Linked DNA regions of Homo sapiens: regions 1, 2, 3, 4, 5 and 6 are each linked to region 7. Evidence: promoter capture Hi-C in 16 types of primary human blood cells and fetal thymus (Javierre and others, 2016). All regions are on one chromosome and are shown on one strand. Each heading gives the region's core, a stretch centred on a gene start or on the middle of the fragment in contact. The rest is flanking DNA. Distances are from core to core; before and after follow the strand shown.

The links. Contacts are between HindIII fragments. The CHiCAGO score rates a contact against its expected background, and 5 or more counts as called.
Region 1: a fragment that was not itself captured here is called in contact with the fragment with the promoter of NPL in region 7 in 2 of 17 cell types (M2 macrophages and M0 macrophages); the score reaches 7.0 in M2 macrophages.
Region 2: a fragment that was not itself captured here is called in contact with the fragment with the promoter of NPL in region 7 in 5 of 17 cell types (M1 macrophages, M2 macrophages, M0 macrophages and 2 more); the score reaches 9.1 in M1 macrophages.
Region 3: a fragment that was not itself captured here is called in contact with the fragment with the promoter of NPL in region 7 in 11 of 17 cell types (M2 macrophages, erythroblasts, megakaryocytes and 8 more); the score reaches 12.2 in M2 macrophages.
Region 4: the fragment with the promoter of ARPC5 here is called in contact with the fragment with the promoter of NPL in region 7 in 3 of 17 cell types (neutrophils, naive CD8 T cells and fetal thymus); the score reaches 5.5 in neutrophils.
Region 5: a fragment that was not itself captured here is called in contact with the fragment with the promoter of NPL in region 7 in 3 of 17 cell types (megakaryocytes, M0 macrophages and fetal thymus); the score reaches 5.9 in megakaryocytes.
Region 6: a contact is called between a fragment that was not itself captured here and the fragment with the promoter of NPL in region 7, in 5 of 17 cell types (M1 macrophages, M0 macrophages, M2 macrophages and 2 more). The highest score is 19.3, in M1 macrophages.

Annotation. Positions count from the first base shown.
Region 1 is chr1:182,116,165-182,120,146 of GRCh38, forward strand. LOC105371642 (a long non-coding RNA gene) reads left to right here. Exons shown (of 3, transcript XR_922341.3): 3 at 1,347-2,484. Among named protein-coding and RNA genes, the nearest start is that of ZNF648, 56 kb to the left of the region's middle. The HindIII fragment of the contact is 766 bases long and covers 1,151-1,916 here.
Region 2 is chr1:182,174,156-182,177,823 of GRCh38, forward strand. No RefSeq gene overlaps it. Among named protein-coding and RNA genes, the nearest start is that of ZNF648, 110 kb to the left of the region's middle. The HindIII fragment of the contact is 6,123 bases long and covers 1-3,668 here.
Region 3 is chr1:182,087,248-182,091,302 of GRCh38, forward strand. No RefSeq gene overlaps it. Among named protein-coding and RNA genes, the nearest start is that of ZNF648, 28 kb to the left of the region's middle. The HindIII fragment of the contact is 453 bases long and covers 1,636-2,088 here.
Region 4 is chr1:183,633,357-183,637,302 of GRCh38, forward strand. It overlaps ARPC5 (actin related protein 2/3 complex subunit 5), which reads right to left and starts at 2,427. Exons shown (of 4, transcript NM_005717.4): 1 at 2,161-2,427. The coding sequence starts at 2,303. It also overlaps a transcript of RGL1 not described here. RefSeq lists enhancers at 1,623-2,123, 2,121-2,400 and silencers at 1,711-1,929, 1,881-1,940, 2,021-2,070, 2,551-2,710. The HindIII fragment of the contact is 3,712 bases long and covers 1,458-3,946 here.
Region 5 is chr1:182,069,837-182,073,640 of GRCh38, forward strand. No RefSeq gene overlaps it. Among named protein-coding and RNA genes, the nearest start is that of ZNF648, 10 kb to the left of the region's middle. The HindIII fragment of the contact is 1,575 bases long and covers 1,266-2,840 here.
Region 6 is chr1:182,142,192-182,146,363 of GRCh38, forward strand. No RefSeq gene overlaps it. Among named protein-coding and RNA genes, the nearest start is that of ZNF648, 83 kb to the left of the region's middle. RefSeq lists a silencer at 1,183-1,359 and enhancers at 1,368-2,036, 2,037-2,704. The HindIII fragment of the contact is 2,379 bases long and covers 1,682-4,060 here.
Region 7 is chr1:182,788,428-182,792,119 of GRCh38, forward strand. It overlaps NPL (N-acetylneuraminate pyruvate lyase), which reads left to right and starts at 1,346. Exons shown (of 13, transcript NM_030769.3): 1 at 1,346-1,378. RefSeq lists an enhancer at 999-1,499. The HindIII fragment of the contact is 6,627 bases long and covers 203-3,692 here.

The sequences.
Region 1 (3,982 bases), core at 284-2,783, 670 kb before region 7:
GCTTGGAGATGCTCAGAGAATAGGCACGAGGCAATATTTTCTGAGCTCTCACCACATCCCGGGTACCATGCTAGACTTGTGTACCTATGGTACTCCCAACAGAGTGAGGCAGAGAGGTGATGCAGTGGGTTAGAGCCTAAGAATGGAGACTGGAAACCTATGGGAGCATGTGCTAACCAGGGTGGTGGTGACCAGAGAAGGCTTTCCAGAGGAAGAGATAGCCAAGCTGAGTCTTGATGAATAGCCAGGTGCAGGTGTGGTGGTGCACCCAGGCAGAAGGAGTACAGCAAGAAAGGACTTGGCCAGCCCAGAGAGCCTGCCTGTCTGATGTGTTGCAGTAGATCCACAGAGCTGCAGAATTGGAAGAGGTGGTGAGGGAGGAGGGGGAGAATAGGAAGGCAGGAGCCAGGTCTCCATAACGCTCCTAATTCCCTCTGGGACATCATCTGTCCCTCAACAATGCCTCTAATAGAGATATCTGCTGCTCTAAACATTTACTGATGCCTTAATCTTTCAAGCAGAATGGTAAAGAAGAAAAAGCCTGTGGGTACCTCCTCGCATGTGTTGTTTGTTTATTGTGAGACAAGGTCTAACTCTGTCACCCAGGCTGGAGTGCAGTGGCACCATCACGGCTCACTGCAGCCTTGACCTCCTGAACTCAAGCAATCCTCCTACCTCAGCCTCCTGAGTAGCTGGGACTACAGGCATGCACCACCACACCCAGCTAATTTTTGTATTTTTTGTGGAGATGGGGTCTTACCATGTTGCCCAGGCTGGGATTCCTCACATGTTTTCACATAAGTAGTCCCTATACTTGCCTTGTTCTTTCCAATTGAAGAGAATTCTTCAGGCAATTAATTTTATGCTTCCACAACGATGTCTCTTCTCCCCACTGCTCTTTGAAGCTGATCTTTGTTGGAAAAATTATTTTTCATCAAATTGATCTAGATTACTCATTGACTAGCTTGTTGACCATAGTTGCTTCTCAAAAAAAGCTCACCTGTTAAGCTTAACAATAGGTACCAGTATTGAACTAGTATTATATGCCTGGCATGATGCTGGGTGCTTCTGAAACATTTTCATTCAATACGCATAGCAAATTAATGAGGAAGACACTATGATCATTTCCCCTTACAGATGAGAAAAATAAAGCTTGATAAAATAACAGCTTATACGTGACAGAACTGGATTTTAATCTATTTGATTCCAAAATCACCACTCTTAGCCAATTCACTCCACTGCTATTATAAATTGTTTTTGAGAACAACTTAAAAGAAAGACATGTGGCTGTTGCTGCATGATGGACAACCAAGTTTTTTGACCAGAAAACATTTTGCCCCTTGCAGAAAGAACTCGGGAAAGCAGCAGGCAGTCTGGAATGGCAATGGGAAGATCCAAAGGCAGCAAAGGCTTCTCTCCGCCATGTGAAAGGCCTGAGTTTAGATACTTCAGGGAAGTTTTAATGCCAACCTTCTGTAAAATCCCCATTCTCTAATGTATGGCTTTAATTAACAATCATGTATCAATATTTGTTAATCATAACAAATGTACCATACTCCTGTGAGATGTTATCAACAGGAAAAATTGAAGGAGAGGTGCATGGAGCTCTGTACTATCCTTGCAATTTTTCTGTAAATCTAAAACTGTTGTAAAAAATAAAGTCAGGGGAGGAGCAAAAAGAAAAAACGTTTATTTTTTATTGAAAAGAAAAACCCTCATTCTCCACAGCCACATCCATATTTCAGAATTGTTCTTAGAAACTTCCAGAAACAATTCATTTACTGTATATAACATTATGGCCTAGATTAAACTGATCAGTAATTATTAATGCTTAACGTTAGTGCGGAAGCTCAAAAATTATATACTAGAGTGTTTGTGTAACTCTAAATCTTAAGATACATGTCAGTGATACCCGAAGCTTCTTTTTTTTTTTATTTTATAGAGAAAACATAATTGACAAAATGGTCACATACTTTTTAAACTTTGTTTTCGACATCTTTGGGAATTGTAACCATTGAACCCCATGTTCCTGATTCAAGCTCCTCTGTGCATCTCTTAAGAGTTGTTGAATTGAAGTCATAATGCCTGGGATGGAAGAAAAGGCTTCCAAGGGGCTGATCTCACAAATCAGCGGATAGGCTGACCAGTTACTCTGTTTGTTCTCAGGCATGTGAAAGCGTTCTCTGGTCCTAAACATCCTGTTCTAGTTGTGCCCCATTTGTTGAGGGGTTGAGGGTGGCATTGATGCAGTCTCCATGCTTTAACTAGGCTGCTATTACCTATTACCTGCCTGCCTCAGCTTCCAACTACCACCCAGGTTAAGAGGGCATGTCTGATGAAGAAACCACCTCCCTTAGTCAAGATGATTCAACTTCATTCTACTCTCATCCCCTTTCTCCAGGTGGAAATCTGAGGGTCTGAGGAGGAGACAGAGAGAGAAAGGGGACGCAAAAAGGCTCAATTCTCAGGCTTCTGTCCCAACAACATCAGTATTATCTTCATAAATTTAAAAAATATATAGCTTTATATTATATATAAAGTCATATATATAACTATATATAACTATAACTATATATATAACTATATATATAACTATATATATAACTATATATATAACTATATATATAACTATATATATATAAAACAATGTAGAAAGACTGGTCAACGTGAGTTTCATTATTATCCAGAAAGCCAGCAGGAGTTGGATGAGCTCATTCACAGAGACCACTGGGTTTTAGGAGCAGGGATTTTTATCCCTCTGGACTGGGAGAGTTGGGAAAAATGAAAGGATCCAAGCTTTACCAAATTCAGACTCACATTTTAGTTCCCAGCCAAAGGTCATGTTGAAGCACAGTGAGAAGCAGTTTCCCTGAGGAAGGGGGTTGGACTTGGAGGTTGGTTCCCCTATTTAGATTCAGACAATGGGAGGGAAGTTTATTACTTTTACAGCATGGTGACAATGCAATGCTTGGTAAAAAACAGTTCTCAGGACATTTAGAATTTGTTCTCTTTCCCTGCCATGTGCTTATGGGATGCTCCCATAAATCCCTTCTCTTATCTGGATACAGGGACCTATTGACTAGTCCTGCTAGGGATTGGGATCTGGAAAAAGCAATTTTTTTCTTTGGTTTGTGCATTTTTAAAATGCCTGTGCAAGGACTAAGAACCTGCTATTCATATTCCCAGGAAAAGATAACTGTATCAATTACTAGATACGGCACCTTGGTCATCAAGAGTGAGTCCAACGACTAGCAGGTGTCTTGGTTTGTGAGGCGCCCCCTCCAGCATTAATGGGAAAAGAGATGAGGGCCAGGGCTGGGTGTGTTGGCTGATGCCTGTAATCCCAGCACTTTGGGAGGCTGAGGCAGGGGGATCACAAGGTCAGGAGTTCGAGACCAGCCTGGCCAACAGGGTGAAACCTTGCCTCTTCTAAAAATACAAAAAAATAGCCGATGTGGTGGCATGCGCCTGTAATCCCAGCTACTCGGTGGGCTGAGGCAGAAGAATCGCTTCAACCTGGGAGGAGGAGGTTGCAGTGAGCGGAGATCGTGCCACTGCACTGCAGCCTGGGTGACTGAACAAGACTCTGTCAAAAAAAAAAAAAAAAAAAAGATGAGGGTCCAGAGATTCCAGTCTAATGCCTCACTCCTGGGTCGATCTCACCAAATAGCAAAGGGTTTCCTGTTCACCCTTTCCATACTGGAACAAGTGAGAGGTGGAGGATGGTGAATCATTTTCCAAAGCCAGAATTGGCCCTCTTGGAATCTTTGTGCATTTCTGATGGAATGTAGGAAAATTAAGGGAAATCGGGAGGCTCCAGGGATTTAGCATGGTTCGGGCCACAGCACAAGGTCCCATAGGCTCTGAAAGACTAAGCTATAGCTCCAATACAGGCGTTATCTGACTCCAAAGTTCAGGCCTCTTCTACTTGAGATCTGAGTCCCTCACACTGGAGCATGGTCAGTTAAGGCTGCAAAAGGGA
Region 2 (3,668 bases), core at 373-2,872, 610 kb before region 7:
TTTACAGAACTGAACTCAATTCAATTTTGAAATTGTATAAGAGATCTACTCCACCCCTTTTCTTTCCATTAAAAAGCAAGAGGGATGTGTAGAAGCAATTTATTAAGGGTCCCTGCGGCTAGTCCCAGACCGCTATTTCACTGTTTCCTTATAGTTCACTGAGAAGGGAAGGGAGAACAGGAAAGGGGAGACCAGTTCCTTCCTTCCTGAATGATTGTTTGGCCAATCCACAGGAACGCCACACCTCAGCCATCCTACTCCCATCAGGGAAGCAGTACTCAGAGAGTCATCCCAGAGCCAGGGCTGGCTGTGTCAGGCTACGATGACAGTTCAGATTGGGAGGTGAAATTTGGCCAACAACAGGGAAGGTGTGATAGGACGTGATAATTATTAGAACATGACATTTTGAGAATAGGATCCAAGTCTGTTTAATATATCTTCAGCACCAACACAATGACTTGGCTTAGTAATAGCTCCAGAATGATTAAGTGAATGAATGCCATGTTCTTGCTTTCTGCAAACACTCTTTAAAAAGCATCTCCTTCATGTCTCTCTTCTGTATATCAGGAATCAGGAATTTGATGAGGCATACAGCTCATCAGTCTGGAAGCATTCTGCTAATTACAAAAGCCCAGGATGCTTGTGTGGAAAAAGCACAGGTTAGAGAGGGGAGAGTAGAAAAGGGTTTTTCCAGAGCCTTTTCTTCTTTTTTTTTTTTTTTTTTTTGACGGAGTCTCACTCTGTGGCCAGGCAGTAGGGCAATCTCGGCTCACTGCAAACTCTGCCTCCCGGGTTCAAGCAATTCTCCTGCCTCAGCCTCCTGAGTATCTGGGATTACAGGCACACACCACGCCCAGCTAATTTTTGTATTTTTAGTAGAGATGGAGTTTCACCATGTTGGCCAGGATGGTCTCGATCTCTTGACCTCATGATCCGCCAGCCTTGGCCTCCCAAAGTGCTGGGATTACAGGCATGAGCCACTGTGCCTGGCCTTATCCTTTTTTTTTCTTTTTGAGACAAGTTCTCACTGTCACCTAGGCTGGAGTACAGTGGTGTGATCAAGGCTCACTGCAGACTGGACCTTCCAGACTCAAGTGATCCTCTCGCCTCAGCCTCCCTAGTAGCTGGGATTACAGGCATGCACTATCATGCTGGGCTAATTTTTTAATTTTTAATAGAGACAGGGCCTCACCATGTTGCCCAGGCTGGTCTCAAACTCCTGGGCTCAAGCAATCCTCCCACCTTGGCTTCCCAAAGTGCTGGGATTACAGATGTGAGTCACCACGCCCAGCCCTCCAGAGCCTTTTCAAATAGGCTAGAGCCCACTTCCCTGTATGCTTAGTTTCAGGTTTCTATGTCATCCTCCCAACATGTTGAAATCTGTGAGAACAAGGATCAACAGTATACGACAATGGTTTAATGGGCTCTGCAGTTGTAAAACCCTGGATGGTTCTCCACTGACAAAGAGGAAGTCACTTAACCACTTTGACTTTTAATCCATTATCCATAAAATGAAGGTGGTAATAGTATCTGTCTCATGAGGTTGCTAGGAAGATTAATTTATATACGATGCACATAAAGTACTTGGCCCGGCCCCTGGGACAGAATAAGGTCTGAATAAATGAGAGCTGTTGTAATTAATTCAAGGCATAGCATGTGGCATTTCATGGACATTTTTCAATTGCTTGAGTAAAACAGACCCAGCTTGGAGAAAGCAGAACAAATCAGAATGAGACAGTCCATCAGGATTCCTTCCAAATTTGTGATCACATTGCAGCTCATCCCTTTGTTTTGGCTCAGTCATTTCTCCAATTGTGAGCAACTTAGGGCTCTTCACAATAGGGAGAATGGGCATATTCACAGGGGCAAATTACAGTTGGAGGAAGCCTCCTGGAGGAATGGTTTTCAGGGGACTTAGGTCCTGGCTAAGTGCCTTACAGCACTTGAAGATTGTTGAGGAGCCATTCTCCACTCCCCCTAGTTTTATGAAGGTATACTTGACAAAACTATATATACTTGCAGTGTACATTATGATGTTTTGATATAAGTATACATATTGAAATTAAATAATTAACATAGCAATCATCTCACACATTTATCAATTTTTGTGGTAAGAACACTTGAAATCTACTGTTAGCAATTTTCAAGTAGTCAATACGTTATTATTAATTATAGTTATCATACTGTAAAAGAGATCTCCAGATGTTATTCATCCTGTCTAACTGAAACTTTGTACCATTTGGCCAAGAGTTCCCCATTCCTGCCCCCAACCTCCCAGCCCCTGGTAACCACCATTCTATTCTCTTCTTCTATGAGTTCAAAAAAAAAGTTTTTTTTTTGAGATGCAGTCTCGGTGCGATCCCAGCTCACTGCAACCTCTGCTTCCCAGATTCAAGCGATTCCCCTGCCTCAGCCTCCTGAGTAGCTGGGATTACAGGCATGCACCACCACGTCTAGCTAATTTTTTGTATTTTTAGTAGAGATGGGGGTTTCACCATGTTGGCCAGGCTGGTCTCGACCTCCTGACCTCAAGTGATCCACCTGCCTTGGCCTCCCAAAGTGCTGGGATTACAGGCATGAGCCACCATGTCCCGCCTGTGAGTTCAAATTTTTGAGAGTCCACATATGAGTGAAATTATGTGATATTAGTCTTTCTGTGCCTGTTACTTCACTTAGCATAACATCCCCCAGGTTCATACATGTTGTTGCAAATGACAGGATTTCATTTTTCAAGGCTGAATAGTATTCCATTGTGTATATATACTACATGTTCTTTATCCATTCATCTGTTGATGGGCACTTAAGTTGCTTACGCACCTTAGCTATTGTAGATAATGCTGCAAGAAATATGGGAGTGCAGATATCTCTTTGAGATCCAAATTCCATAGAGTTTTTTTTTTTAACCTCAATTGAGAGCAAAGTAAGAGGAAATGGAGCCTACTGGCCCCTGAAGAACTTCTTGCTAGACAGGAAGAAATTCCTGGAAGTTATTTAGCCTCATCAGAGGGGGCAGTTAATATCCTTCTCAGAACAGAAAAATATTGAACTTTATTGAGGTATAATTAATATACAACAAAATGCACTCCTTTGTTGGATGGAGTTCAATTAGTTTTGACAAATGAATACACTCATGTAACTACTACTGCAATCAAGATTTAGCACATTTTCATCACCCCAAGAATTTCTTCTTTCCTGTCTACAGTCCACTTGGGTCCCGAGTGATTCTGTTATTACATGTTAATTTTGCTTATTCTAGAATTTTATATGATGGAATCACACAATATGTACTCTCTCTTCTGTGTTTGGTGGTGTTTTGCTCACTCACGTTGTTGCATATACCCATTGTTTGTTCATTTTTATTAGAGTATAATATAATATTGTATCTTATAGCTTTTTAAAATCTGTTCACCTGTAGATGGACATTTTAGTTGTTTTTCAGGTTGTGGACATGATAAAGTTGCATGTGTGTGCAAGTCTTTGTGTGGATATATGTGTTCCTTTCTCTTGGGTAAATACCTAGCAGTGAAATTGCTGGGTGGTTAGGTAAGAAACTTTTAAGAAATTGGCAAATAGCTTTTAAAAATAGCTGTATCATTTTATGTTCCCACCAGCAGTGTGAGTTCCAGGTATTCTACATCTGTATTAATCAAAGTTCTCCAAAGAAACAG
Region 3 (4,055 bases), core at 612-3,111, 700 kb before region 7:
GCAGGAGATGGAGCCCGTGTCTTTGAGGACCTCAGAGGCAGAACTTCTGGTTGGGGCCTGAGGACTTTTGCACTCTCCTGAGCACCCTTGCCTTTTCTTGCCACCGCAAGGGAGATGTTATCTTCAGACTCTGGGGCTATTGCAAGCTGCTGCTCTTCCATGAAAAGCTTGGGGCCTTTGCTCAGTGAAGTCAGGATGTTTTGAGATTACAGGGAGGGTGGAGGAAACAGGAGGGCCCACAGGGTGGGTGAAAAACCTCATTCTCCGCCCTCTCAGCTCCACCCTGCATGCACTACCAGCATTCTCAAGGCTTCCTTCTCAGTTTGTGTAAGACAAGGAAAGCCTGAACCAGGGATTCCCCTCTCAGCCACCCCAGCTGCAGCCCCTGAGGGTGGGTGTGCATGCAAGGGACAGGGTGGGGAGCCACAAGCTCATCTTCCACCCCTCCACAGCTCATCTGGCCTTGCCTCTATTGCTTGGGGAAAATGGCACCTTGAGGACAGAGTATGCCTTGCTTTCTCCTAGGAGAATGTTCTCTTTCTGTACTCGCTGATGGAGCTCTAGCTAAAAAAAGTATATTTCCCTGCCTTTTCTTTCTTCCTCCTTGAGGGCCTCTCTGTAGACTTTATCAGGCCACACTGATGAGCTCAGAACAGAAAAGTTATGGCTATATGGGAGCAGGCTCCTCCCTCATAGCTCCTGGTCAGATCTGGACATCTGGGGCAGCCGCGGATCAGAGCCCCAGGCTGGCCCTGGACCAGACCCCTGCTCCTCTGTCCCAGGCTGGCCCACTGCCTCCATGAGTCACTAAGGTAACCAGGAGGGCAACCACAGGGGAAAACAACCACCCTTATTGCCCCAGGTGGCAGTCCCAGCCCAGGGCAAAACTGGGGCATTACTTCAACTGTACCAAAGTCAGGCCTGTGCCTGGGGCTGCAGGAGGCGGCTGCAAAGAGGCTGGGCGGGGCAGCAGGAAGCCCTGTGGAACTTGCGTGTGTCCTGACTTGCCATTTCTGATGTCAGCACCTTCAGATGCCCTTTCATGGGGTAGGAACTGGGAAGGGCAGAGGTAGTAACATCTGAACAAAGCTGGGTGAATTCCCACGGAAGACGGAGCATCGAGTCGTCAATGCCTTTTGGTAAACAAGTCGCAGCTCTTCCGTCTTGGCTCATCCTCATGGGCACATCCCAGTGGTGTTCCCTGCCCACCTCTGCACCCACATTTTAAGGTGTGTAATCTGCCTCCAGCTCTGTCCTCCCCACCTCAGAGCCTTAGGATCTCTGGCTCTGACATTCAGTGCAATGTGTGCCGCCTGGTAGGCGCTCAGCGTTTTGAGTGAAAGAATAAATGTTTAGGTTTCCAGCAGCACCCCGTGCTGCTGGGATCACAGAGTGGCTGCTAAACCCAGGGTGTTGATTTGAGTGCCCAATGGGTGCTCCTCCGAAAGTAAGGGAAGTGACCCTGTGGAGCTGTGGCAGAGGTCGCATCCCCTGAGTTGCTGACCTTGCAGAGAAGCACAGGGTGCTCCTGCCTGTGGGTTGGGTGAAGCACCGTGTATATCTTTATCTCTGCTTGGGGGCCTGTTTCCTCCCCTTGACTTGTGCCTCCTCAATAGCAAGCCCGAGTCTCATTTAAGCTTTGAATTCTAGCACAGAGCTGGGCCCATCCATTAGATGAAGTGTGTTTACAAGTCTGTTCCGGAGTCGGTGGTGCTCCTGCTGCTTCACCTGGGCTCAGGACACCGAATACAAGATGCGGTTTCAGGATCTGGAATCCGCAGAGCCAGTGGGCTCCATAACCTGGGTCTGGGTGCCATGGCTAGCATCGTTGGCTGTAAGGAAGCTGTTCTGGCAGTTCTTGATGGCCGCTTCCCTAGCATCTCTGTGACAGGAGCCCTGAGAGAGGTCCTCTTCCTCCCTTTCCTTAACATCTGCCCTAGAGCTCGGCTGAGCTTCCCTGGGCCCTTGCAGCCCTGGTAGGCCTTTAGCACACAGAGTCAATATTTGTAAGATGCTCTGATGAGTGGCAGGAAGGGAATATACATTCTGTTTTATAGAAGGCAAGAGAAATATCAGAGGGAAAAAGTAAGCTTGCTCTTCATATTTGACCCCCACAGTGCCTGGAATGTGTGAGACGGATCCTGCCCTTTCCTTCACCAAGCCACCTAGCAGAACCCATGCCATCCAGGGCATCTGCGAGAGAAACACCTCTCCCAGCCTCCCCTGAGCAGCCCACTAGCGCTGTGGATTCCAGATCCTGAAACTGCATCTTGCACTCGGTGTCCTGAGCCCAGCTGAAGTGGCAGGAGCACCACTGACTCCAGAACAGACTTGTAAAGAAAGAAGGTATCTCCCAAGTCAGCCACAGAGGCTCATGGTTTCCTGCTCCATCTAGTCCTGGGTGTTTGCTTAAATGGGCACTGGCTGACATGACTGAAACCTCATGCATCCATCACACATTCACCCTCAACAAAGACACAGCCCCTCCTTTAAGGCCTGTGCTCCCTGTACATACACAGTGCCCTGCAGCACAGAGAAACCACATGAATGGCCTTCTTGGCTCAAGGAGTCAGGGAGTAGGGGCCTGCTGAGCATGACCATGTCCAGAGAGTGGGGACCCCAAGAACTGTAACAGCCCATTGGACAGATGTGGGCAGGAATGGGGACAAAATCACCCACAGTCTCAGACCCCAAATGAGGTGTGAATATGAAATCCATGAAAACCTCATGTGGAGGCCAAAAGACTAACTAGATTCCCATCTCATCTCTCCAGGCCAGAAGCCTATTATCCAATCCTTCCTCTCATTGCAAGCCCCAGAAGTAACAGCAATTACAAAATAAAGAAAAATAAGAACTTGTCAGCTCCAATTTTGGGGTTTGAATGTGGTCTCTGGGGAATGATCAGACGGTGGAAGCAGCTGTGGGCAGGGACTCCTCATGCAGCGATGACTACTCACTAACCCAGGGCATGCATTCGAGGTAAACCCTGTGGGATTCAGGGCTTGTCCTGCATCTCACAGTTGAGCGGGCAAGAGCCACCTCTGCCCAAGTGAGGCTTTGTCCCGCACGTCATCTGTATGACCTTGCTCTAGGCTGCTCAGGGACGGTAAGATTTTTGTTCTTGAGGACTGGAGCAGGTGATGGCCCAAGTGCAATGAGTTCTGTGGGCATCAATGCTCAAAATAAACACTAATGCACTACAGTCCCTCCCACTTGAGAGGCCCCTACCTGTCCCACAATATCTCATCCACCTAGAATTGAATCCTGGGTCAGATCCATACTCAACCAACTCATTTAAGTGCTACCAAGGGCTGACAGTGGTAATAGGCTTTCCCTATTACCTATAAGGGGCATATGTTCCTTTTATAGATGCAGAAATTAGAAGTCAGATTGCTTAAGTGACTTGCCCAAGACCACAAAGGTAACGGAGACACAGGTCTTTTGATTTCTAATTCAGTGTTTTGACACCACACAAAGGCCACCTCCTTCTTTGAAACCTGGAACGGTGCTAGTTGCCCTACAGAATCCCAGCATGGCAACCGGCTGGAAGAGGAGAGGCAAGGTGCAATTAGCATTCACTGTGTGTCAGGCTTGAAGCAAGCCTTTTCCTGCCTTCTGTTGGTGAGTGTTAATCAGCCCTGCTCTTTGGGGTCCTAACGCATGGACTCAGGGGCCAGAACTCCACCTCAGGCTACTTATGGCATCCCAGACAAGATATTTCACCTCCATAGACCTCAATTTCCTCACCCGTAAAATGGGATTAGAATGCCATCCACCTCACAGAGTTTGTTTATGGATTCACTGAGTTAATTTGTGTGAAGCACTCAGAACAGGGATTGGCACTTAGTACATGCTTTATAAGTAAGTGTTTATTGTTGTTTAATATTACTTCCAAATAGGACAAACTAGTTGCCACATCTCCAGGGCCCCTGGCCACACCCACTGTCCCAGAAAGCTCCACTGTGAGGTTCTTATGCACCTGAACTGGGCCTTCTAGGAAGCAGCTTCTATGGCTGAGGGTCCAGCCAGCCTGGTTCCACTTTCTCCTCCCTCTG
Region 4 (3,946 bases), core at 1,177-3,676, 850 kb after region 7:
ATAAAGCAAAGACTGTTTCACCCTTGGTTCTAACTATCAAGTGAACACCTTGATAGTCTTTCATTTCCCAGTGAGATACATATGCAAACATTACCTAGAGTGGTGTTAAAGAAATCCTAAAATATATATCAGAATTATTAGTCCCCCAAATGAAATAACCTATTATCAACCAAAATATGTCTTTTCCTGTGATTCTAATTGAAAAAATAAAGACCAAACTTTTGCTAGAACCATATTCTGTATTATCTGAAATGCTGGTAGAACATGCTGGCAGATTAGCAATCTGAATGATACACATTAGCAATCTCTCAATATTGATGAAAAGAGGCATCACAGAAGATGTAATAATTCATATGTCCCTTAGGTGGCAGCTTAATTTTTTGCTTTAGATATTTTCTCTCATATTTCACAAAGGTTATTCAAACTGTGTTAGACCATACCTATTAAATTCAGGCTCTCTTTGAAAGCACTAGTGAGTTAGCAAGCATGAGAAACAGAAGGCCAATCAGACTGTCAGAATGTACAAACATTCCCCTAAAAGGAAAACCACAGAGTTCACTTGTTCCTCCAACTCTAGTACCCCACCACTAGGGCTGTCTTTCCTGGCTGTATGTAACGGTAAGAAGAGACAGTATCTTTATATTTTAAGATGAACTGATCAAAAAGCAGATCCACTGATATGGATACAGCAGTACCATTTAAAAGTCACCACAAATTACCTAAAATACACTGGGGTTTCATAAAACACCATCTATCCATCACAAATAATGTTTTTAGGAAGCATGTTCACCATTTATTTTCTAAAGAAAAAGTTCTTACACAAAATCTCTGGTTGACAAGCTGTTATTTTCAAGGCTGCAGGGATTTCTAGAGAAGCATGCCTGATGTAGATTAGCTCATTTTTTATAACTCCAAGCACTTAAGTATTTAAATAATGCAAAAGAGCAACAGCTAATTAATTGTGAAAGTTGTGGCAAAGCACTATCTATATATTGATAAATGTCTAATGCTCTATTTAGGTGCCTTTAAAAAAGGATATTGTTGCCATTAAATATTTTCACTCTCATATTTCCCCACTATAACAGGACATTGTTGAGAGTCTTCCTTATGAATACACCCAAGAATTAGAAATGCATACAAATTCAGTGTCTGAGATTTTCTAAAACTACAGCTTCGGTTTTTTTGCAACATTTACATTTTTCTAAAAAAGATGTAATGCAAATGCGAAGCCAAAGTTATGAATATTCAAATATGCAAAAACAGAAACCGGGAACTGACTGCCATATTTTAACTAAAATGGAAACAATTTTAGGATTACAAAAATGATTCTGCTTTATACGAATGACTCATCTTCTATCTTATTCATTGGGGTTTATTTTAAATATTTCCAAGGATTCTCCACACGCATTCCCCGTTGTTTTTTCTATTGTCCTTTTCTTAGCAGGTAAAAGGCTCCAAGCTTCCTTCTAGGAGTTTTGTATTTTTTGTATTCATTCCCCTCCCCCAGTTAACAAATTCTGTACAATGTATATTTTGCCAAATCCCCTTCTTCTTCTTCTTTTTTTTTTTTTTTTAAAAAGGCCAATGGGCTGAAAGCACAGGGACCCTCAATTTTCGAACAGTCCCATCTCCCCCCGCCCCCCGGTAAGGAATAAACTACCTTAACGCTACCAATAACAAAAACACAACAAAAAACAAAACCACTAAGGAAAGATGCAGGTTCCCCACAATCAGAAATTTCTGGAGCTAATGTGACCCCAGGAAATCAGAGTTCTAGGAAGAAAAACTAAGGCGCTCGGCACCAGCCTTCCCCACCAGCCGGGGCCGCCTTCCCCAGCGCCGCGAGGGCGCGGCCGGCGGGACCAGTTCCCGAGGCAGGCAGGCACTCGGGTGCAACCTGAGGAATCTGGGGGCGTGGAAGGCGCGCGGGGGAGGGCAGGCTTCCAAGAGTGGGACCCTCGCGTCTCCTGCCGACTGGGTAGGAAACGGGGGCTTCCCCCTTGCCCTCTCAGAGCGGGCGATCCCAAAGAGACAGGTTAAGCCGCAGGTTGAGAGGGCAGCTCCGCGCCGGTGCCCCGCGGATCCTGCAGGCTCCCGGGTCCCAGGAGAAGGGCGGGCTGGGCTGGGCTGGGGTGGGGAGGGCGGTGAATGCAAGGATATTGCCGCAGGCAGGAGTCCACCTCGCCCTCGTCGGGCCCGGCCTGGCCGTCGCCCCCATCTTCTTCGTCCACGAACTTGTTCTCGTCATATTCATCCACGTCCACCTTCCGGAAGCGGGCCGACGACACTGTGTTCTTCGACATCCCAATCCCGACCAGCGGCAAAGGCCTCTTCTTGGCGCTGCCTCTACCTCAGCAAGCCCAGCCCAGCAACCCACTACCCGGCGCCTGATTCACTTCCCTCTTCCGCTCTGAGGCGTCGCCGACTGCCGCGGCTCGGACCGTTCTGGGCCTGCGCGCTAGCCCCGTTTCTTCCTCCTCAGGTTCGCGCTCCCTTGGCGCCTCCCACGCTGCCCCTGCTCTTCCACGGAGAGCGCGCGCGAGGGAAGGAGCGCGCAGGACACAGCGCGCAGGCGCGGGCTCTCCGCAGGCAAGGGGCGGGGCTGGGCGAAGGAGGCGGGGGCGAGAGGGAGGGCCAAAAGCTGGACCGCGGGCAGAGGTAAGAAGCGATTGGTCGTCCGATTGCGTCACGTGATTCTCGGTGGGGGGGTTCCCATAGAAACGCTTTTCTGCGGTCCAGTCTAGGGGGTCTCAGATTGGCGGGGATGGGCAGCAGCGGCAGGTGGCCTTGGCTTTTGCTGCAGCCGTCAACGACCTATCATCGGGGTCCTGCGTAAGGTCCGGCTGGCTGGGACTTGGCTGTGGGTGGGATGGACTGGCTGCCGGACCGAGTGCCCTGCAGTTGGTAGGAGTATGAGGCAGAGTGATGCACACCCGGGCGCCCAGCATCGTTCTAATTGCCGGAGACATTGCCTCAGACTGTGCGCTGCTAGAGGCTGCGTTCCTGAGCAGGAAGCCCGTTTCCTGGGATTGGAACTACCCTTCTTGGCCAGCGGGAAGTCCCCAAGGACGGAGTCGAAAGGTCAAATCTTATCTGTCAGTGCTGTGTGACAGCATCGCAACGGGATCTGCAGAACCTGAACTCGGTATCAAATCTATTGGGAGGGAGGGGAACGTGTCCGGGCAGGCGCTGGGGTCGGGTGGCAAAACTGGGGTGAATTTGTAGAATTTGGGAAAGGGTCATTGACATCTTAAAATAGGTGGTCGTTTGGAGCAAGAATGCTCGAAAGGGGTGAGGGTAGGTTAGGCTCTCTAGTGCTGGGGGAAAACAAAATGTGGAAGGATTGGTGGAAACCAGACCTTTAAGATTTATATTATGATTTGAGATTTATATGATTCCATCTAGGCCAGATTTAAAAAAATATTTGACATCCCCATTTCTGGAATGTAGGAGATAAAGGCACTAAGACGAAGGAAATGGTAGTTGTGCTGTGTGTATTACACTGAAGAACAAATATTTGCAGGATAAAATTAATTTGGACATTTGGCTGGACACTGCTCGGTATGGGTCCAGTTTAGTTGGACCTCGAGCAGAAGACTGGCTGTTGCCCTGTTGTGTACCACAATCTTTGGTTTCCAGTGCTGTGTTGAAAAGAGCACTAGGCTTAGAATCAGAAAACTCAGGCTTAAGTGTTGACTCTTCCACTCATAATGTTTGAACGAGACATGTCACTTAAAATTCTGTCTCAGATTCCTCATCACTGAAATGGAGCTAATAATGTGCACTTTACAAGATTGTTCTTAGGATTATATATCACGAAAGTGTTTCCAAGCTCTAAAATTCTACATAAATGTAAAATGCATGTTGCTTGTACCATTGGTTTTGGGACTAGTCTTATAAATTTCTTAATGATATATGGTGTTTTATCTCCTTCCTAGAAGAGATG
Region 5 (3,804 bases), core at 803-3,302, 720 kb before region 7:
CCTGGGCCAGACCCAGTCCTTGGCCTTGCAGAGACAAAAACTCTATTTTGACACGCTTCCCCCACCCACCTGTCACCACCTCCACCCCAGGTGCCCAGGCTAGTTAGGGAAGGGCAGAGGTGTGAGGGCTCCAGGCATGGCTACTCTGGAGAGCAAGCTTCTGCTCTTCAGCCAGGTTTTCTCACTTAGGAGGGGAGGGAGGATGAGATATGGCAGAGGCCCTTTGCACAGTGATGTGCAGTCCTTCTTTACCAGGAAAAACGGGACTGCCGAGGATCCCAGGACATTCCTGAAGGCTCACCAGCCTGGCTCTATGCATAGGACAGTGTAGACAAGTTGAACTACAGCACCAAGAGCACTGAATCAGAGCTGGGGCTGGTATCAGGAGCCTGGTGCCTCTTCTGCACCCCAAGGACACGGCTGTGTAACCGGACCCAGGTTCAGCTGCTTGCTGCTGCAAAGCCAGAGGCAAGGGGTTCTGGGAGGAAAAGCAGAGCCAGCAAACCCAGAAGATGGCAAGCTAGCATTCTAAAGTATCATCTTACATTTTATAACTTACCATAGAGTTTTTAAAGGGATATGTGGTATAGGGGACATGTGGGAGTGGTACAGGGTACTGGACTTGTGTGTCTTGTTCCGTTGGCTCTCTTGGTTAATTGCTCATCAGGAGGTCTGGTTGGTATTAGCTTGATTTTGGCTCAATTGTTCACAACTCCCCCTAAGTGGGAGGAGTGGGGCACCTGGATTGTTTCAATATTAGCCTCTGGGATTTCTTAGGTAAGAGCATAATTAGATAAGCATGCACTGGTGAGGGGATTGTCTAGAGAGGGAAGGAATGAAGGGGTAAGAGGGAAGGGAAGGAAGAAAAGGAAATGGGTGATTTTTAAAACAGAGGTTCCTGGTTATAACTGCACAGGGCCCTGTTACCTGTGGCTCCAGCTGCAGGTTTGCTCTCACACAACCTATATGGGCAGTACTGGGGATAGACCTAAGTTCTCGCTTTGCCAAGTCCCTTTTCCTGGACCCTGGCAGGCCATTCTCCTGTTGACACATCTTCAACTGTAAAGGTTGCCCCTTAGTTAGTTAGCACCCAGCTATAGTTTCATCCCAGTCCCAGTGACACTGTTTCAGCACCTTCAGTGGACCTGGGGGCTTCCTGAGCCTGTTCAGCTCTGTGTTTCTGGGCTACACACCCACATCGGCTCCTTGGGTGGTTTACCCTCACCCATTAGGATTCTTCCTCTTAAGAGGTGAAGACATCCCCAAGCTTCAGAACAGCCTTACTGTAGCCATCTGCTTAGTATAGGTTGAGCACCACTAACCTCAAAATCCAAAGTCTGAAATGCTCCAAAATCCAAAACTTTCAGAACACTGACATGATGCCAAAAGTGAAAAATTCTACACCTGACCTCATGTGACAGGTCATAGCCAAAATGCAGGTGCACAACACACAGTTTATTCAGAATGCCTCCTCATCCTAAGGGACCCACCTCCTGGTCCCCCACTGCTTTGGATGTTTCTCCTCACCTAAAAAAAAAAAAATACAGCGTTCAATGACCTTTTAATCAAAACACAGCATTGTAGCTGAAAGCCTGTTGTTTGTTGCTGCTGTTGTCTGACAGCTGATACAGGTATTCTGGTGATGCTCCTGTGCTGCTTATTTACCCAGACACATTATTTTTTCATTGTATTAATAATGTATCTTTTTTTACTGTTTAAGTACTTATGTGTAAATAAGTATAGGAAAATGATTGCTTATTGGTAGCATCCACAGTTAGAGTCAGGAATGATGATGATGCCAAACAACCATGTTTGGTTTGTCCACATGGGTGACTGAGATAGTGACACCTGTGCTTTCTAATGGCTCAATGTATGCAAACTTTATTTCATACACAAAATTATTTAAAATATCATATAAAATTAACCTTGGAATATGTATATAAGGTGTATATGAAACATAAATGAATTTTGTGTTTAGACTTGGGTCTCATCCCCAAGATATCTCATTATGTATATGCATATATTCCAAAATATGAAATCCATAACATTGCTGATTCCAAGTATTTTGGATAAGGGATACTCAACTTATATAATGAGAAAAGGCAGGAGTATGGAGTACAACTTTGGAGTCAGAAGGGCTTGCGTTCAAATCCCTGCTCTGCCACTTGCTAGTTGTATGACCTTGATGAAGTTCTCTGGCTTGTCTCAGGCCTGTTTGTGTAGGAGGGGCAATGGGGTTAACAGCGCCTCTCTTATGGAACTTCTGTATGTGTTATGCAGACAAACATTTCATCATCACCGTGCACAGTGCAAGAGCTCAGTGCATAACAGCTGTGTTGTTCTCAAAAAGTAGAAAACATGGAGAGACTGGTAGCTGAGGAAAAAAATGAGAAAAGAACTGCAGTCCTTTTGTAGTCCTAGTTTCTCTGTTCAGGACTCAGCATTTGATGATGTTTACGGGTCTCTTCAAACATGGCTTCCAAACTGAACATGATGTTTTGGGTGCAGCTGGTCTGACCATTATGGAGCAAAGAAGACTTGGCTCTTCCTTATTTCTGGTTCTCCCTTGGTATCCCAAAAACTTTGGCCTTTCTGGTGGGCACAACCACCTAACCCCTTCAGTGTTAAGAAACATCCCAAAGCATTTTGTACATAAGCAATGGTGATGTCACATCTCTTCTATGCTATTTTTGGGTAGCTGGACTTCTCTTGTGAGTTGAATTTTGATTTGGGGGTACAAGATGTTATATTAGGGACCAACATCTCTGAAGGGAAGGGGGATCAACAGAATTGGGTAGCGGAAGATGAGGCCCAACAAAGCCTCAGCCAACCTGGCAGAAAGCTTTGGAGCAAGTTTCCTTGGGCAGAGTGCCCAGCATTGGGCTGAAGAGGCCAGCTCTTTCAATATCCAGGTCACCAGATACAGGAGGCAGTGGAAAGGCTATGATCTCGGACAAGGCAGCTCTCTGCAGTTGAGGCAGACTCTGAAGGAGCTGACAGCTAAAGGTTGTCTGCTGACTACATTCCCCACAGCTGCACAGCAAGTGCTTCTCTGGAGGAAGATCTGGGCAGCACATCTTCATGTGTGTACCTCTGTACCCAGGTGTAGCACCTACAATTCCCACTTCAGCCCAGCTGCAGAGGCCAGTGCTGTCCTAGGTAAGAGAGGCCTTTTCTCTCTTACTGCTTCTTTCCCATACAGGCCAGCTTCTAGAAACCCTTATCTACACATGCTCTCTCCACTTTTTCTCATTCCATTTACTCTTCAAGCCTGTTACACTCTAGCTGCTACCCTCCATCTAATTGAAATTGCTCTAGTCAAGGTCGTTGACCTCCATTTAGGAAAAGCCAAAATACACATTTTTTGTCCCTTACTGAAACTCTCAGCCTCAGTAAACATGGTTGGCCTCACCCTCCTTCCCCACTTTCCTTTCCTGGCTTCCTCATATGTCTCTTTTCCACCTCTTTCTGTCTTTAAATGTCGGCATTCTTCAGAATTTGGCCCTAAGTGCTCCATTCCTCTCCACTCCTCTTCTATCTCTTCTGTTACCTCTCTTTTCCTCTTCTCTCTTCTCTTCTTTAATATTTTCTTCCCCTTCCCTTTATCTCCCCTTTTTCCCTCTCTTCTCTGATCCTATTCCTTTCTCTCCTCTCTTCTTCTCTTCTGTTTTCTCCATATGTTCTCTCTAAGTGATTTTATTCATGCTCTTGGCTTGAAATCTCACCTATGTTCTAAAACCCACCAAAAATATATCTCTGAATTCCAGATCTCTATAATTCAACTGCCTAGTTTTACTCATTAAC
Region 6 (4,172 bases), core at 1,621-4,120, 640 kb before region 7:
CCCGACATAAATAAAGGCCCTGCTAATCCACCAGCTACACTCGTGTGACAAAGGCCCCAGAGATACCCATGCTCTATATCCATGGAATTGTGCCATGGGGCTGGCTTACTGGGGATTCTATTTACCTGTGGTCTTGACGGGCCTCCCTGGAGAAACAGTAACCTGACATCTGGAGAGTACATTTGGCTCTGTGAACTAGGTCAGATCTGCAGACTTGTGGTTTACCCACTTAGACCCATGCCACACACAGCAGGCCCCTGATGAGAGCCCTGGCATCCTTGCCTTGTGCTTCTTCACCATCCCCTCCCAGATCTCACCTGGCCTCTTTGGTCCCAACTGTGTGTGTGCCTCCTCTCCTCTCTCTAGCTTCTTGCTCTTCTCTATGCCCTTTGCCTGACCCTGCCTCTCTGGTTCTGACCTTGGCTCCCCTCCTGTTTTGCAGTGAGCATTTACCCTTCAGATCATATCTGCAGCTGCCACTCTGGGCAAACTCCCTCTCCCTCAAACTTGGCCTCCATGTCCATTGGCCATAGGCTGATTTTCCCACTGTGCTTGGTCAGGCTTCATGGGTGGAATTCAGACACCAGGACTGGGCATCCTGGTCAAAACCAGGGGCAAACGCTCTCACCTGCATTCTTGGGCGGGAGGCAGGGGTCCCAGGCGGCCAAGAAACTCACCCCATAACTGAACAGAGGTGGCATGCCCACACTCCGTCCCTGGACAAGGGAAGCTCAAATTCAAATAGTATACAACATTGTGCTTCTCACATAGTAAAACCAGTCTTTCAGAAATGTGTCCTGAATTCCTAAGGGGAGGAAGGGAGAAAGATCCTCCAGAAAATAAAAAAAAAAATTCCAATAAAACGAAGTTGGTCCACTGGCAATATAGTACAAAACAAAGATCTTGGTAAGAAAACATCTCCCTGATTTTGGGGTTCCCATGAAAATAACACAGGTCCCCATGAAAATAACGTAGATGAAGCAGCAGAGAACTGACAAAGGCTGTGGAAACATGGAAAGAGTAATGATAACGCAGAAATCAGAGGTGAAGTAAAAGCACAAGTGAACCTTCACAAAGCTGGGCTAAGTGATATTAACGTAGCTGCTATTAACCAGAAATTCCCAGTCAAGTCAACCAGGCTTGGCAGTGGTGGCCACCAGAGGGCGCTAGAGTAGAGTCCGTGGGAGAACTTCAGCGGTGGCCCTGCAGGTTTGAGAGGCACCTTCCCGGAGGATGGATTTGAAGGGCTGAGGGTCCAGCAGTTCTGTGGGTTGGCGGCTCACAGGAGAAAGCATGAAGACATACTTCCATCCTCACACCCCCGAAGGTCCTTGCCTGGACTGGAAGCTAAAGAAGCGCATGCTACATTGTTTTCCTAGTGACAAAAATCCCAGCTGGCCTCTGGTTAACTTTTCAAACAAATGGCACTGATGTGATATTGGGCGAACTCTAGGTGTCACTGACCTAATAAAAAGAAAAAAGCTATTTGCTTCCCATTTTCCGATGCAGTGAGGATTTCACAGTGATCTCAAACACAGTGAAATACATAAAAAGAGCCTAGCTTAATGGGGGCACCCAGCAAATGCCCAATAAACATCTGTTCCCTTTCCTCAATAAACCCCATTTGCCTCTCAGCCTGCAGCCTCCCACACTGGTGGACCCACGTGCCCCTCAGAAGTGAAGCTTTTGGCCCCTGTAAAGCAGCAGCCCCTCTGGCCAGAGAGTCTTTTGTCCCAGAGCCTTTGTTGTTCCAGATTTCTCACTGTGAGGCCTCAGCAGCTGCCAGGGGGCCACCCCAGGAGCTGGAATCAGAGCTCAGAAAGACAGCAGTCCTTCTTCTGCTCCTTTCTGGGCCCGCATGCCCCAGCCCCACACCCAGCCTCAACCACACTGCCCTGCACACCCTCACCGTGCCCCCACTTCTCCACAATGTGTTTCTAATCTGCCCAGGAACAGTCACCAGCTCACTTTTCCTGCCTGGTCTCATTAGCGTGGCCTCTGGGCCTGGGCCTGGGTGTGTAGCCCAGAGGCTTGCACGGAGGTGATCAGATTGCAGGGAACAGTATGTTTCCCTCCCTGCCTCTGCTTGTTTTCTTCAGGGGCCAGGGCCAGCCAGCTGAGCTGTCTTCCTCTTCCCCGGCTTCTCATCCTCCCTCACACATGGTCTGACTTCAGTGGGTGGGGGGATGAGCAGAGGGTGTGACACACACGAGTGTGCATGACTGGCATGTAGGGAGTGTGAGTTGTGGGCAGGTTTCTTAAGGGGAGGCAAGGCTGCTACTACTCCGGGAAACAGGCCTGGGAGCCAGGGGGAGTGGAGGAGGAAGGCCAAGCTGGGGATTTGTACAGACCAGTTCTGGCCAGATCTCTTAAAATGTTTTGTTCTTGCATTGCTGCTGCTGCTGCTGTTGGTTTTTTTCCCCCCTTCCCTGTGCTGAGCTGTCATTTCTTAGTCCAGCCAGGCCCTTATGAACTTCTGGTTCCTCTAAACGGTAAACACCCTGGTTTTCCAGACTACACCATAGCTCTCTTTTCTTATTTGCCTTCAAAATACACTTTAAAAAAAAAAAAAAGAAAGTAGAAAATGGCAATATCAGTGATAAGGGCAGGGCATGCACTGAAAAAGAACAGTTCAATCTAACATTTATCGAGCCTGCCACCTTCCTCAGCTTTATTCTCTCCTTTCTTGTTCTTGGTAACAGCAGATAAGAAATCAGCTGTGGGTCAATACGTGAAAAATGTTCACTCTTTTAGAGTAGTATTAAAATAAATATTTTCAATGACAACATTAAGCAGTTAATAATTAAAGCATGTGCATATGTATACTTAAAAGGGGCTGGAGTCCCTTCTGTCCAAATCAAATTTTCCACAAGCGTTGGTAACAAGGTGGCTGGGAATGTTGAGATGTGAGACTGGCCTTCCAAGGATCAGGAGGGCAGCTGGTGGTGGGTCTGCTCTCTCTCATCACTCTCAGTGGCGACATCACCGTCCATCCTCCCCAGTACTAAGATCTGCTTCAGGAAAGAGCCTGAAACCAGCCACATGTATCTCATGTTGGTGAAGGAAAATCACAGTAGTGGTCCTCAGTGGGACTCTAAAATGACTTCACATCAGCCTCATTTGGTAAATGAGGAAACTGAGGCTCCAAGAGGTGATGTGTGTCACCCAAGTTTCCATAGCAGAGCTAGAAAAAGACCTTGTTCCTGGGGTCCTGGGAGAGGGTCCTACTGCCCAGCTCTGACGGATGAAAGGAAGGCTTTTTTCCATGGTACCAGCTGTTGCTATGGGCAACCCTAGAGATCACTCTGTGGGGTGTGGGATCCTTCGGGAGAGCTTGTGCTTCCATTTGGAGAGACTTCACAAAGAGGGTGTGCCATGGGGACTAACATAAAAAATCAAGAGTGGGGAGACAGAAAGAGGAAGGTCAGCAGAACTGTCCAGATTTCTACAATGCCCGCCCTTCTTAGGCAAGCTAAGCCATCTACGTGTTGGGGGCATGGTTGCTGGCCCTCCGGAAACCCCTCGGATCTGAAGAGCAGACAAGAGCATCTGTCATCTCACAGAGATGCCTTGGGATTTGAATACTTGTTTTGTCTTTGGCCTGGAGTTTTACTCTTAGAGCTCCTTGCCCAGATATTCCATGGTAACCCACTGTCATATTCTGCATAGTCCTCTGAGATAAATATGGAGAAATTATGGAATGCAGGGGAAAGAATTCTGAACTTCAAATGAGAAGAGCTGGGTTTGTGTCTGGCTTCACTCCTTACTTGTGTCTAATCAAAAGCAAATCAAAATTGAAAGTAAGAGCTAAATTTTTGTTAAGGTAGGATTTTAAGGCAATTGTTAAGTCAAAGATGTATCTTAAGCACCACATTCAAAACCACGTATTCTCGTACATCACTCTTACTGTATTTTCTAGACTCTAAGAAGCCATTGACTAAGACACAGCAGCGAGTTAATAACAGCTTTTAGGGGGAAAGGAGAAGAAAAATGTTTCTCTGTTAAACATACACATCAATTGTAAGACACAGGATCTCTGAAATGTCAGGTGTGAAGATCAAGCTTCTTGGAATGAAAGAAACAGTGGTATTGTTAACATTTTGAAGGAAGACTGGCTCAGGGAAGGGCAAAAGACATTTTTGAACACACGGCTACTTATCGGGTTAGTAGAA
Region 7 (3,692 bases), core at 96-2,595:
TAAACTGTGACTTTCCAAAAAAAAAAAAAACTTTCATTGTACCATTAGGATATAATATTCTTGTTAATATTACAAAAACCAAACCAAAACAAAAACCATGCTGCAGCCTTAGGAGAACTTGCTTCATGTAACTAAGGGTTTTTCTTTTTCTTTTCTTTTTGTATTTTTTTTTCCTGTAGGATAACATAGTGTTAAAAGCACAAGCTTCTGGACTACTTGAAATCAAACCACAGCTTAACCAGCTCTATGGCTTTTGGCAAATTACTTCAACTCTTTAAACCTGTTTCTGATCTGTAAAATGGAATGATCCTTGCTCATCTGTAATATATACATTTATAAAACAGGACCCACCAATGGGATTATTTTATGAATTAAATGTTAAAACAGCTAGAACGGTGCAGGCTGAGTAAGCACTGAACACAGTACTTATTAGCTATTATCTCTGGTGCTCTGTGCAACGAAAGAACTATTAGAATACATTTAAAAGCACTTTGCAAACTAGAAAGCCCTTTGAACAATTTAGTTTCTCTAAATGTAATAATAAGCATCAGCCATCGCCTTTTATGGAAAATTGAGGTGGAATCACATCAGCAAGAGAAAACTGAGGACTTGTCTCTGGCTCTGTTCCTGATTTATTCACACAGTACATGATCCTAGAATAAGACTCCTGATACTCCTGAAAGTAGAGGCGGTTGGGTTAAAAATAATTTTCCCTTTCAAAACTCTTTCAAATGTTCTCCAAAAGAAGCCAGGAAAGCTCCCGTATGAGTAGATAATTCACTTTAAAATTCGCTCATCTCTCTTTAACACGAGAGTCTGCAGGGCTGGTGCAGCGGCGTCAACCCGAAGAGACCTGAACGCCGATGGGCAGTTGGGATTCTCCGTACGCCTCGGAAACAGCAGCCCAAACCTCACAACGCAGAACCACGAGATAGTGGGGATTGCAGAGCCCTGCGCAAGAGAAGGAAAATTAAGACGCAGCGGAGCCCAGGAGGTGCCCGCACGCGGGAAGGACTGGCGTGCAGACGAGGCAGGGGGAGGTTTGCACTCGGCGTGGCGCGGGTGAGCCGCGTGCTCTCGGGCACCCGGCCGCCAGTTCGGATGCTTCCGATCCTCGGGGAGCCGGGGCGCTGCGCCGGAGTCACTTCAGCCCATGTTGTTCAGGTGACACCCGGGGAAGAGCAGACTCCAGTGTGCAAAACGTTTCGGGGTTTCCGGGCCAGCGGTTCCGGGCGCGCCTCGCGGGCGGCGGCGCAGAACTACAACCCCCAGGCTCCCTGGCGTGGCGGCACGTGGGCCCGAGCCGGGCGGCCGCGGATATAAAGCGCGGCGGCGGCTGCCGGGCGGAGCGGCTGCACGGACAAGAGCGGAGGCCTGGGTGAGCGCGGCCCGCGACGGCACGGGCTAGGACAGACGGACGCAGACGGCCCGACGACCTGGGCGTTCGGGCGGAGGGGCGCTGGGGCCTGACTCGCGGGTGGGTGAGACGTTGACGGACCCGGAGGAAAGAGGGAAGGCAGATACGCTGGGAAACGGATCTGGGGAAGGTGTGAATGCGAAAAGTGTAGGGACAGACGGGGGCAGAAGAACTTACTCCCCCGGATTGTTTGCAGACAGCATATCTGCCGGGTCTCCAAAGGTCCTTTCCTCAAAATAGAGTTAGCAATTGAGCAGAAGAGAGCTTAAAGTTAAACCTGATACATCCCCCCTTCACTTGAGGAGAAATTGGTGGTTTTCTGCTTTTTTAAAAATCCCTATTTGTATCTCCTCTTCTCCGAGTACCTGTCCCTCAAGATATTCTCTGCCCAGAGGTACATTCTGCCCTCACTTTCTGTCTCTTAAAAAAACAACTTTGCCATTTAAAAAAGAATTTGACTTAGGCAGCTTTAATTCTTTGCACTGAGTGTTCTTATCTGTGGATGGAGGTATAAGATTTCAAGAGTAATACCCCCTCCCAATGTTTCAGTAATAATCTAAATTCACATTAAGCCTTAGGCTGGAGAACATTTGAGCTATTCGCTTTAGCTACGAGCTCTGAAAACTTCAAAGCATAACATTCCCAAGTTTATCTAAAACTTGAATCTTAAAAATAATGATAATTATCTGTTATGCTTCAAAGCATAACATTCCCAAGTTTATTAAAAACTTGAATCTTAAAAATACTGATCATTCTCTGTTAAAGTCTTTTGTTGTTGTTGTTGTTGTTGTTGTTGTTGTTGTTGTTGTTGTTTTTGAGACGGAGTCTCGCTCTTGTCGCCCAGGCCGGACTGCAGTGGCGCTATCTCGGCTCACTGCAAGCTCCACCTCCCAGGTTCACGCCATTCTCCTGCCTCAGCCTCCCGAGTAGCTGGGACTACAGGCTCCCGCCACCACGCCCGGCTAATTTTGTATTTTTAGTAGAGACGGGGTTTGGCCATGTTGGCCAGGCTGGTCTCGAACTCCTGACCTCAGGTGATCCGCCCACCTCGGCCTCCCAAAGTGCTGGGATTACAGGCTTGAGCCACCGCGCCCGGCCAAAGTCGTTTTTATCCCATTTCTTCCTGTAGGCGTTTCAAAGTTTGCAAAGGCAGCAAACTTTTACGTAGTGTAGTTATCTGTGCAAAGAAATTTTCCAAGCTGCCATTGCCCCCAGATGGCAGACAGTCTAGGAGAGGAGCCAAAACCACCCTGCTTAATAACTCTGATGTAAGGTTTTTAATGAAAAGCCACTGTTTGGGGGAATTCTGAGGTTTAAGAAATTATTTTCGGCTGGGGTATCAGGAAATCCCCTGGTTTTTAAAATGAGAGGTTTTTTGGTTTTTGTTTGTTTTTGTTTTTAAGCTATACCTGCTGGAATGGATAAAGTGAGCTTTAAAAGTTGATCAGACCGAAGAGATTGAAGTGAGAGAACCACAGGAACAAAGGCAAGCAGACAGACAGTGAAAGGTAGATAGGAGGAACAGCAAACAGTTTGTTCAGCTGGGCAAGTATAGTGCAGGCACGAAGATTTCAATAGAGACCCAGACCCCAGGGAGCTGGTTCTTTAGCCTACTGGCATTTTCTAAACAGGACAAAGACAAGACCAGAAATGCTGGTGTTACTGGAAGATTAATCTGACAGCTGGTGTGGATTGAAGAAGAGAAGAGGGATTAGGACAGTGATTCCTAACCCCTATCCTACACTCCCAACGGCCCCTTGTTTTGAATTTTTGAACTAATCAAACTACATTTGTGGTAATTAGTTTTATTTCTTTCCATTAAAGACATATAAAACTGCCAATTTGAGCTTCTGATGATTCTAAGAACATCAGTGTTACCGTCCTTAGTATCAAATAAATGCAGGCAAAAGCACAAGACTACGGAGTTTTATTTAGCCTGAACAGCCTAGTAGTGTTGGATTTAGGAGGTGTTTAATGCTGACTCAAGCTCTCAGGACTCTTATCACTTGAACCTTCTTGGGCCCTGTGGACCTGGGGTTTTGCCTATTTGTCTAGATAAGAGGTAACGAAGGGAAAAATTATAAAGGCGAAAGGAGGAATAGCAGGGGAAGAAGATAACAGAATTGAAATGACTTAGTCCCTAAATAGACAAGAGTAGTGAGTGTTGGAAAGGAGGCACTAGCAGAGCAGAGATGACTGGGAAGATGATGCTGGTAAGGGCATGATAGTATTTTCTACTGTCCTATACACATCAGGCAAGACTTCATGGAGAGCA